2 separate regions of the Homo sapiens genome follow, and region 2 is linked to region 1. The links are contacts of gene promoters, found by promoter capture Hi-C in human tissues and cell types (Jung and others, 2019). All regions are on one chromosome and are shown on one strand. The core of a region is centred on a gene start or on the middle of the fragment in contact, and the rest is flanking DNA. Distances in the headings are between cores, read along the strand shown. Region 1 holds the start of CCKAR (cholecystokinin A receptor). Region 2 overlaps SEPSECS-DT (SEPSECS divergent transcript).

Region 1 (4,965 bases), core at 457-2,956:
TCCCAAGTCTGTCTGATGCCAAAGCCTGTCCTCCCAATAACATCCACAGCTTCTCCAGTGTCCCTTCCCCTTCTTGTTTCTGTGACTAAATGCCCCAAACCATGTGGTCTTCATGGTTTCAAAGAAAAGAGGCACCACTGTCTTTCCAGCCCCACACTGACAGTAAAAATGCGTTAGTTCCTCTGTGTCTGGCAGAGACTCAGCAAGATGTAGCATGCAGCTCTGCCAGTGGAAGCATTGTCAGTACACAAGGAGCCCCACGGGTATCTAGCAAATGGACCAAGTCTCAGCACAGCCAAGCAGGGCGTCAGAAACGCAGGTTTCACAGCCATTGTCGTCTGCTTTCCAAAGGGTCTGAACTGAGGACATAATCTGTGCAATGGAGGTTGAAGGGCTTTCCAGCACCACAGAGCTTCATGGAACACCCAGGACCCTGAGATGGCCCCCCTCTCTGATCTCACGTCCTGCTGTTTGCCTCTCACTCACTCCTACTTCTATCTATTTGTACCTCAATGGGGCCACACTCATTCCCACCTCAGGGCCTTTGCACTTGCTGTTACCTCTGCTAAAAGTGCTCCTCCTTTTGCCTGGGAGAAGCTGTCTTGGGATCTTCACAAGACTTTGTCCTTCTTGTGGTTCAGTCTCAGATCACAGTCCCCTCCTTAAGAGACCTCTCCTGACTACCCCTTCTAAATCAGCAGCCCCAGGCCAGGTGCAGTGGCTCACGCCTGTAATGCCAACACTGGGAGGCCAAGGCAGGAGGATTGCTTGAGCTCAGGAGCTTGAGACCAGCCTGGGCAACATAGCGAGACCTCCTCTCTTCTAAAACTAAAAAAATCAGCTGGGCTTAGTGGTGTGTGCCTGTAGTCCCAGCTACTCAGGAGGCTAAGGTAGGAGGATTGCTTGAGCCAGGGAGCAAGGCTGCAGTGAGCCATGATCGCGCCACTCCACTGCAGCCTGGGGAACAGAGCAAGACCCTGTCCCCGCCCCCCAAAAAATCAGCCCCTAATCTGTTTGTATACATCACATCTCCCTGCTTTACTCCCTTTGTAGTACTTACTACCTGAAATAATTCTGCTCATTATTTGCTGACATGCTAGAAAAGTGCCTGGCAAATGATTGACTCTCAATGAAGATGTGCTGAATGCAAGGCTTCATGAATGAAGAGGAAATCTCACTAACGTCTTTTGTAATAAGGACCCAGGTACCTATGTTCAAAAGTGCCTCAATCCTAGTTAACAAGGGCAGAGACCACGAGAAACAACACTGTGTTTAGTAGCAACTTAACAACCAGCCAGCAGTTCTGTCCACACACACACCACCGGGCATGGTTCCAAAGCTAAAAAGGCACTAATTGCTTTTCTATAAGGAGGTAGAACACAGTCCCTCCGTGTTCTTTAGGCCTGATGGTCTGCATTATCGGATCTGTTACCGTGTTAATTGTTCCTGTCTCACACAGCCGGTTTGGGCTTTCTTCTGCATATGTCTGGGATGGTGACGGGTTCCTATATAGAGGAGTACTGGGGAAGCCTCTGTGTGTGTGTGTGTGTCCGTGCATATGTACACATGTGTGTAAAAAGCAGCCACACGCTGAGAATGGTTAACGGGTAGCCAGGCTGTCTGTACTCAGGGCCCTAAGACTGGCCCAGGAAAGGGCCGGGGGAGGTGGGGCGGGGTGAAGGTGGAGCGGGCTTGGCTTGTGCTCACTGCCTTTTCCACAACAGGAGTACAAATGCTGGAGTGAGTGAGGTGAACTCAAGTCGCCTTTAGGAATGGCTGAAAAAGCCCACACCTGGAAATCACTCCCTCCCTGCTCCTCCACGGCAGGTTGCATCTGCGAGACGCTTCGGTCATTAGAGGAATGAGCCGGGAGTGAGCAATTCACCAGCTCTCCAGCACTTGGTGGAAAGCAGCAGGCAAGGATGGATGTGGTTGACAGCCTTCTTGTGAATGGAAGCAACATCACTCCTCCCTGTGAACTCGGGCTCGAAAATGAGACGCTTTTCTGCTTGGATCAGCCCCGTCCTTCCAAAGGTAAGTGTCGGAAGCTGTTATTTTAATTCAGGAAACTATTGAGTTGTGGGAGAAATCAGCAAAGGCAAGGCTGATAAAAAATATATATAACCAAGTCATTGTGAGACAAGGCTAGATAAAGTCATATGTTCAGAAGTTTGGAGAAGAGATTAAAAAGCAGAATAGAGTCAAATATTCTTATTGTCCCCCATGGGGGAGTTGGGCATTCATGAATAGGACTTGGGGGAACAAAAGCAGGGGAGGAAAAGCTGAGTGAAGCAAGAGGGACTACAAGTGTCAAAGCCTGAACTTACAAGCACAGCAGAAAAGGTGTTGTCACCATGCAGCTGTTTTCTTTTCTTGGGGGGAAACCCAGCATGAAGTGATTAAAGTGAAATAATGCTTAGCAGCCAGGAAAGAAAGTGATCACTGTTCACTTGAGGAGCTTTGTTCTTAAGAAAAAGTGGTTCCCTGAGTGATCCTTTAACAAACCAACCTTCTAAAAAGAAAATAATTCAGTCTCTGCTTTCCTCAATTTGTTTCCGCAAAATGTTGCCAGGACAGGAATCGTGGGTCCAGTGATGTACACCCCGGTGGGGGGAAAATCGGCAGGAATTCACCCTTGGCTTCGGTTTTAGCATTCTGCTGTCATCACCTCCATCCCTCCGTCTTGCTCCTGTTTCTCTCTGCAGAGTGGCAGCCAGCGGTGCAGATTCTCTTGTACTCCTTGATATTCCTGCTCAGCGTGCTGGGAAACACGCTGGTCATCACCGTGCTGATTCGGAACAAGCGGATGCGGACGGTCACCAACATCTTCCTCCTCTCCCTGGCTGTCAGCGACCTCATGCTCTGTCTCTTCTGCATGCCGTTCAACCTCATCCCCAATCTGCTCAAGGATTTCATCTTCGGGAGCGCCGTTTGCAAGACCACCACCTACTTCATGGGTAAGTTGCTGCTGGTGACTCTTTCTGGAGCTTGCCCCAGACCCCACTCAGCCCCAGACCTTCCCAAACCTCTGACAATCACAGCAAAGGAGCCCTGCTGAGGGCTGAATCACAGAACATCAGGCTGTGCATGGCTGTGTGCACGGACATTGGTGCTGGCTTGACAGTCATCCTTATACGTTCCCCACAAGTCGGTCCCCATCATCCATGTTGGAGGTCAGTTTCTAAGAGTGAAATAAATTGATAGGAAAACACAGGGGCAGTTGATTTTGCTTGCTTCTATTTGAAGGGAAGAGGGACTTGCTTGCTTCTGTTTGAAGTCAGAAGTGACTTTAAGCTGCTCTATCCCTTTCTGGAAGCTGTTGACTGTGTCCTGATCTATACACAACTTGAGTCCTGGCTTCTAGGGAGGGTGAGGATGATGGAGGAGGGTTCTTTGCAGTTGTTTCTTTTGTTTTCTTAGGGAACAGGGGCTATTTGAAAACCAGTTCTATCGCAGTTTCAGATTCTCTTCTCAGGATTCACTTCCCAGCCTGTTCTCCCCAAAGCTGGGGCCATCTCTGGCAGAAAGAGAGAGAGAGAGAGGTCTCTGCCCCTAGATGAGGAGTTGAATTTGCTCCTGGGGGCTATGGGGTCGCTAAGCTGACCCTGATTGGCTGAGATATATAGCTCTTTGCCTATGCCAAACAAAAATGATGATAATGAAAATCATAAGAGCTAAATTTTTTTAGCGCTTTTATGCACCCCATGTGGTACTAAGTGCTTTGCCTTCCATGATCTTACCTTATCTCCCAACCACTCTATGAAGTAAATGCAATGATTCTTCCTTGTCTCCCTAAGGAGGAAACAGAGGCACAGAGAGGTCCATAATGTGCCTAGAACCACACAGATGGTAAGCAACAGAGCTGAGATTTGAGTCCAGATTTGTAGCCACACAATGGTGAGCATGATACCTCAGTTTGCCAACTGCTGTGGTTCTCTTAAAGTTGAACAAAAAAACACATTTCTTGGTCCCCTCTGGGTGCCAGATTGCCTAGTCCCTTGCCCTTTCTGAGAATTAGTTGGGAGAAGGGCAGAGATGGGAAATAAGAAGGGAGTTATTTTTTGTTCTGACCCAAGCCTTGCAGAATATGCAGAACTGAGTTAGGCTAGGGCAGTCTTCAATGACCAGAAAGCCTTATAAGTCCTCATTTTTCCCAGTTGAGGAAGTGGGATTCCACACTGACAAAATGATGGTGAATTACTGACCCTCGTGCCACCAAAAACCAAGAATGTGTCAATCCATGTCCAAGTCCTCTGAAAAAAAAAAAAAAGACAAAACTTACAAAGGAAAAAGATCGTTGTTAAATAATGAAGCAATAATAATAACTAGCACTGTAGACATCCGAGGCCCATCCATATATATCTTATGGTAATACTATTTGGGAACCTTAACCAGAGAATGTGAACCGAGATTTTAAATGAGTGTTTTCATGGTGGCAAAACATTGTGAGTGCCACAGAGTTGTTCAGTTTGAAATGAGGTTAATTTTATGTTATGTAAATTTCAACTGCATAAAAAATATTTTATTGGGCAAAAGAAAAGCAACATCATTCTGAAAGTATTTGCAATACCATAATAATTTTGTTGGATTTTTAATTCCAATAATTTAGGCTCTTCTCTTAATTTTGCAGTCTCCTCAATACTAATAATTAACATTCATTAGCTCCTAATTTGTAGCAAAAAGAAAAAGAATGCTTGCCTGCCAGTGAGTTTATAGTTATTGATGATCCATTATGCAGAACTGAGTCTTAGAGATTTTTGGGCCGTACTCTTCACTCTAAATGTCATCAACTCTTTAGAGTAAAATCCAGTAAAACACAGCAAATCCTATCCCCAGAACATGAGTTTTTAGTTAATGGTTTGGGGGTCATAGACTTTTTTAAGACTCTAAGGAAAGCTAGAGCTAGGCTCCCTAGAAAAATGACATTTTTGGATATAGTTTCAGAGAATTAGTTTATATCCATAA
Region 2 (5,430 bases), core at 2,149-4,648, 1.3 Mb after region 1:
TCGGGAGGCTGAGGTAGGAGAATCGTTTGAACCCGGGAGACGGAGGTTGCAGTTGTGAGCCAAGATCATGCCACTTGCACTCCAGCCTGGGCGACACAGTGAGACTGTCTCAAAAAAAAAAAAAAAAGTCACTTAATTATTTATTCGATAAATGGTAAACGCTACTATGCATCACGTACAGTCCTAAGTCCTGAGTTGGAGAAGTTCCAGGGTTAGTCAATTGAGAGAATCAAAGACATTAGGGACCACTTTTTCTTTTTACCCTCTTTAGAGTGTTTTAGGGCACTGAACTTCATCTCCTCATTCCTACCCTCCTGGTCTTAAGATGGTCTCTGCAGTTTCTCGTATTATATTAATATCATTACAAGATCTCATCCACATACAAAAAGCAGGTGAGGAGAAGGGGAATGGTTCTCCTTGTTTGTGCATTTTATTTTATTTTTTAATAAAAAAAAAAACTTTCTCATAACTCTCCAGCAAGCTTTCCCTCTGGCCCCATTGGCTGGGTTAGGTGATATGCTCATGCCATAGCAGAAAAGTCTGGATGAAGAGTTTCCAATGACTGGGTGTGGTGGCTCATGCCTGTGATAGCAGCACTTTGGGAGGCTGAGGGAGGAGGATTGCTTGAGCCTAGGAGGTCAAGGTTGTAGTGAGCCGAGATAGTGCCACCGCACTCCAGCCTGGGGCAACAAAGCAAGACCCTGTTTCAAAAATTTAAAAAAGTTTCCAGCATTTTCCTTCTTTTTGAGTTTCCAGCATTTTCAACTTCTTTAATGAGAAGCATGTTCAGCCAGCAAAGAAGAAGAAGAAAAATGGTTATAGACAAGCAACCAACAGTATCTGCCATAGCTATTTTATAGCTGTTTAAACTTGGGTAAGTAACTTACTCACTTTCTGGCTTTTCCATCAGAAAAATGGGAACAATAACAATTGCTTTAAAGATCAGGATCAGTATTAAGTGAAAAAAAAAAAACATGTGATGTGATAGGTATCAAATAAATACTAATAGCCTCCCTTTATACTATTCTTACTCCTCTGGTGCTCAACATTTGTGATTTCATCAATTGTCCAAATAAAACACCAGTTGAGAAAACTGAAGAGAAGAAACTAAGAGAATGTATTTAATGTCGTGATGTGTGTATGTAATTTATAAATTATATGGCTGGAGAAATTGCAGTTTATTATTTCAGGATGCAAAATAGACTGGAAATCTGAATCAGTTACAGGAGATGTATTGCAGTTAAATGAATTGTTTTGCTTCACAAATACATGAAAAAATATAGTCGTGTGAAGGATATTGGATACCAAATGGACTTTATTTTTAACTGTTTGTTTTAATAGCTCATGAAAATACGGCGGTGCTTTTATGGCTGCAATGAATTTTAGGAATAGGAGACTTCACTGAAGCTTTCTAGCACTAAATCTTTTTAGTGGAGACCTAAGAGACTTAGTATGCTGGTGTCTCTCCATGCATCCTGGTGGCCAGTTCCTCCTCTGCTCTTATTCATGCTTTTCTAAAAACTGGAGGCTGTGAGGATGGGTGGAAGGGGTGATAATTTCAAGAGCTGGTGCCTAGGAAAGTCGTATCATCCCTCATGAGCTTCATTTGCTTTTCTTAAGTTGATTCTCATTTTTTTTTTTTTTTTTTTTTTTTGAGACAGAGTCTGTCTCTTGTCACCCAGGCTGGAGTGCAGTGGTGCAATTGTGGCTTACTCAGCCTCGACCTCTTAGGCTCAAGAGATCCTCCTGCTTCAGCCTCCTATGTAGCTGGGACTACAGGCCTATGTCATGTTACCTGACTATTTTATTTCTTTTTTGTAGAGACAGCGTCTTGCTATGTTGCTCATGCTAGTCTCAAACTCCTGGCCTCAAGAGATCCTCCTGCCTCAGCCTCCCAAAGGGGTTACAGGTGTGAGCCACCACACCTGGCCAATTCTCATTTCTTAAATACAAGCCTTTTCCTCTTCCTGTGTAGGGTATATGATGGCTTCTTTGGAATTGACTTTAAAAGCGGGAAGATTTGGGAGGCCAAGGCAGGAGGATCACTTGAGCCCAGGAGTTAGAAGTCGTAGTAAGATATGATTGTACCACTGCACTTCAGCCTGGGTGACAGGGTGATACCCTGTAAAAAAAAAAAAAAAAAAAAAAAAAAGATAAAAGAAAAAAGACAGGAAGACTTTGTGGGTATATAAGATTCTTTTATTTTAATATTAGAAATTCAGCTTAACTTCTTATCCATAAAAAGGGAATTGATGGCCAGGCATGGTGGCTCATGCCTGTAATCCCTGCACTTTGGGAGCCTGAGGTGGGTGGATCATGAGATCAGGAGTTCAAGACCAGCCTGGCCAAGATGGTGAAACCCCATCTCTACTAAAAATACAAAAATGAGCTGGGCGTGATGGCAGGTGCCTATAATCCCAGCTACTCAAGAGGCTAAGGCAGAGAATTGCTTGAACCTGGGAGGCGGAGTTTGCAGTGAGCCGAGATGGCACCACTGCACTCCAGCCTGGGCGACAGAGCAAGACTCCATCTCAAAAAAAAAAAAAAAAAAAAAAAAAAAAGGAATTGGTTAGCTCACACAACTGAAAATCTAGGTCATATTTGACTTCAGACGTGGCTAGATCCAGGAGCTCAAAAGTGTCAAAGAATTGGTTTGCCTGTTTCCTGTCTTGCCTGCTTTCCTCTACAGTGGCTTCATTCTCAGACAAGCCAGTCTCTAGAGGTAACAAAATACCTGCCAGTAGTTTGTCCTCTCGGCAAACTCAGAAAAAAAAATACCTTCTTTCTCCAATAGTTCCACAAAAAGGTATCTACTCTGGAGGGCAAGGCTAAGGACAGGGCTGATTCTGAGCCAGAGGGCACCAGTACAGGTAGAGCAGCAGTTTCTAGTTGGCATCGAATTGGGCAGTGCTTATGCTTTATCTCTTGTTAACAATTTTGAAGTAAGAAGTGGCAAATGACTTATCCTTTTGGGCTTTTGGTAACTTTCATTTCATTTCATTCACCTTCATCTTCATTTTTCCCTTACCTCTTTCTTTTGCCCTTCTAAAATATCAGTAAGTGGGTGGGTGAGATTTGATCCTAATTGGGGTAAAATGAGGGTGATATAGTCATAGTGGTGGTGATTGTGCCTTTGGAAAGTGGGGCCTGGTTATACCAGTCCTAGTTTTCCACCACAAATTCCCTTGTCCCCTTTAGTTGTCTTAAAAGAGCATGGACAATAGAGCTAGAGCTCCTGGTCTTAAAATCAGGCATTTCAGCTCTGCCCTTATGAGCTGTGTGACTTTGAGCTATTGCTTAACCTCTCTGTGTCTCTGTTTTTTTACCCGTAAAATGAAGATAGCAACAGGGAATTGTTGAGAGGATTAAACAAATTAATATATATAAAATACTTATGTGATAGACTGGATTTTTAATTACCTATATATAATCAGCTGTGGGAAGAATGTACCTCCCCATCCCATTTGAAGTTAGACTTAGTCTTTCTTTGTAAGGCAGTATCTCACTCTGTCACCCAGGCTGGGGTGCAGTGGCACAATCATAGCTCACTGCAGCCTCAACCATCTGGGATCAAGAGATACTCCCATCTCAGTTCCCTTGAGTAGCTGAGACTACAGGTGCATTGCCACCACACCAGGCTAATTTTTCAATTTTTTGTAGTGATGGGGTCCCACTGTATTGCCCAGGCTGGTCTTCAACTCCTGGCCTCAAGCAATTCACCTACCTCAGCCTCCCAAATTGCTGGGATTACAGGTGTGAGTCACTGTGCCTGGCCTTAGAAATTTCTTAAAGGAAGATTTACAAATGGCCAATAAGCACATGAAGATACTCAACCTCAGTAGCCATTAGAGAAATGCAAACCAAAATCACAGTGAGATACCACATCATACTTACTAGTATAGTTATAATAAAAAAGCCAGCCAGATAGGCCGGGCGCTGTGGCTCATACCTGTAATCCCAGCACTTTGGGAGGCTGAGGCAGGCAGATCATTTGAGGTCAGGAGTTTGAGACCAGCCTGACTAACATGGTGAAACCCCATCTCTACTAAAATACAAAAATTAGCCAGGTGTGGTGGCAGGCATCTGTAATTCCAGCTACTCGGGAGGCTGAGTCAAGAGAATCGCTTGAACCCAGGAGGCAGAGGTTGCAGTGAGCTGAGATCATGCCACTGCACTACAGCCTGGGTGACAGAGTAAGACTCTGTCTCAAAAAAAAAAAAAAAAAGCCAGATAATAACAAGTATTGATCAGTATGTGAAAAAATTAGAACCCTTGGTGCAATGGCTCACACCTATAATCCCTGCACTTTGGGAGACTGAGGTAGGAGGACTGCTTGAACTCAGGAGTTTGAGACCAGCCCAGGCAACATAGTAAGACTCCCATCTTTATATTTAAAAAAAATGAATGAATAATTAAAAAAAACAGAACCCTTATACACTGTTGAGAGGATATAAAATGGTGCAGCTGCTCTGAAAAACTGTTCAACAGTTACTATAAAAACTCTCTGGAAAACTGTGTGGCAGTTACTCTGAAAGTTAAATATAGGTTTACCAAATGACCCATCAATTTCACTCCTAGATATAGACCCAAGACAACTGAAGTGATATAAATTGGTATAATATTTCTGGGATGTAATCCTATTTGACCCATAAATTCTACCTCTGGTAATATATTTTAAGGAAGTATATATTTTCTTTTTTTTTTCCCAGGCTATTCTCAAACTCCTGGGCTCAAGTGATCCTCCTACCTCATCCTCCCAAGTAGTTGGAAGTAAAAGCAGGCACCACTGCACACAGCTCTAATAAAATATATTCAGACAAGAATGCAAAATATATGTATAAGATGTTCATTGACGTATTGTGTAATAAATTTGGAAATAACTTCAAAGATCTATCAATAAGAGATAAGTTATGACACAGTTTGTATTAGGCAGTGGAATACCTAGCACTTATTTAAAAGGATTTCGTTGATAGCTGGGTGTAGTGGCTCACACCTGAAATACCAGCACTTTGGGAGGCCAAGGCAGGTGAATCTCCTGAGCTCAGAAGTTTGAGACCAGCCTGAGCAACATGGCAAAACCCAGTGTCTACCGAAAATACAAAAAATGAGCCGGGCGTGATGGCACACACCTGTGGTCCCAGCTACTTGGGAAGCTGAAGTGGGACGATCTCTTGAGCCTGGAAAGTGGAGGTTGCAAGGAGCTGAGATCACTTCACTGCACTCCAACCTGGGTTACAGAGTGAGACCCTGTCTCAAAAAAAAAAAAAAAAGAAGAAGAAGAAGAAGAAGAAGATAAGGCCAGGAGCAGTGGCTCACACCTGTAATCCCAGCACTTCGGGAGGCTGAGATGGGCAGATCACTTGAGGGTAGGAGTTCGAGACCAGCCTGGCCAATATGGTGAAACCCCATCTCTACTAAAAATACAAAAAT

The links. Contacts are between HindIII fragments. The study calls those that stand out against the background at their distance.
Region 2: a fragment that was not itself captured here is called in contact with the fragment with the promoter of CCKAR in region 1 in 1 of the 25 tissues and cell types used here (aorta).

What each region holds. Positions count from the first base shown.
Region 1 is chr4:26,487,225-26,492,189 of GRCh38, reverse strand. CCKAR (cholecystokinin A receptor) reads left to right here and starts at 1,706. Exons shown (of 5, transcript NM_000730.3): 1 at 1,706-2,034; 2 at 2,706-2,957. The coding sequence starts at 1,923. The HindIII fragment of the contact is 14,703 bases long and covers 1-4,965 here.
Region 2 is chr4:25,192,142-25,197,571 of GRCh38, reverse strand. It overlaps SEPSECS-DT (SEPSECS divergent transcript), which reads right to left. Exons shown (of 2, transcript NR_037934.1): 2 at 1-104. It overlaps LOC105374535 (a long non-coding RNA gene), which reads left to right. Exons shown (of 4, transcript XR_925490.3): 2 at 757-874. Among named protein-coding and RNA genes, the nearest start is that of SEPSECS-DT, 34 kb to the right of the region's middle. The HindIII fragment of the contact is 4,908 bases long and covers 945-5,430 here.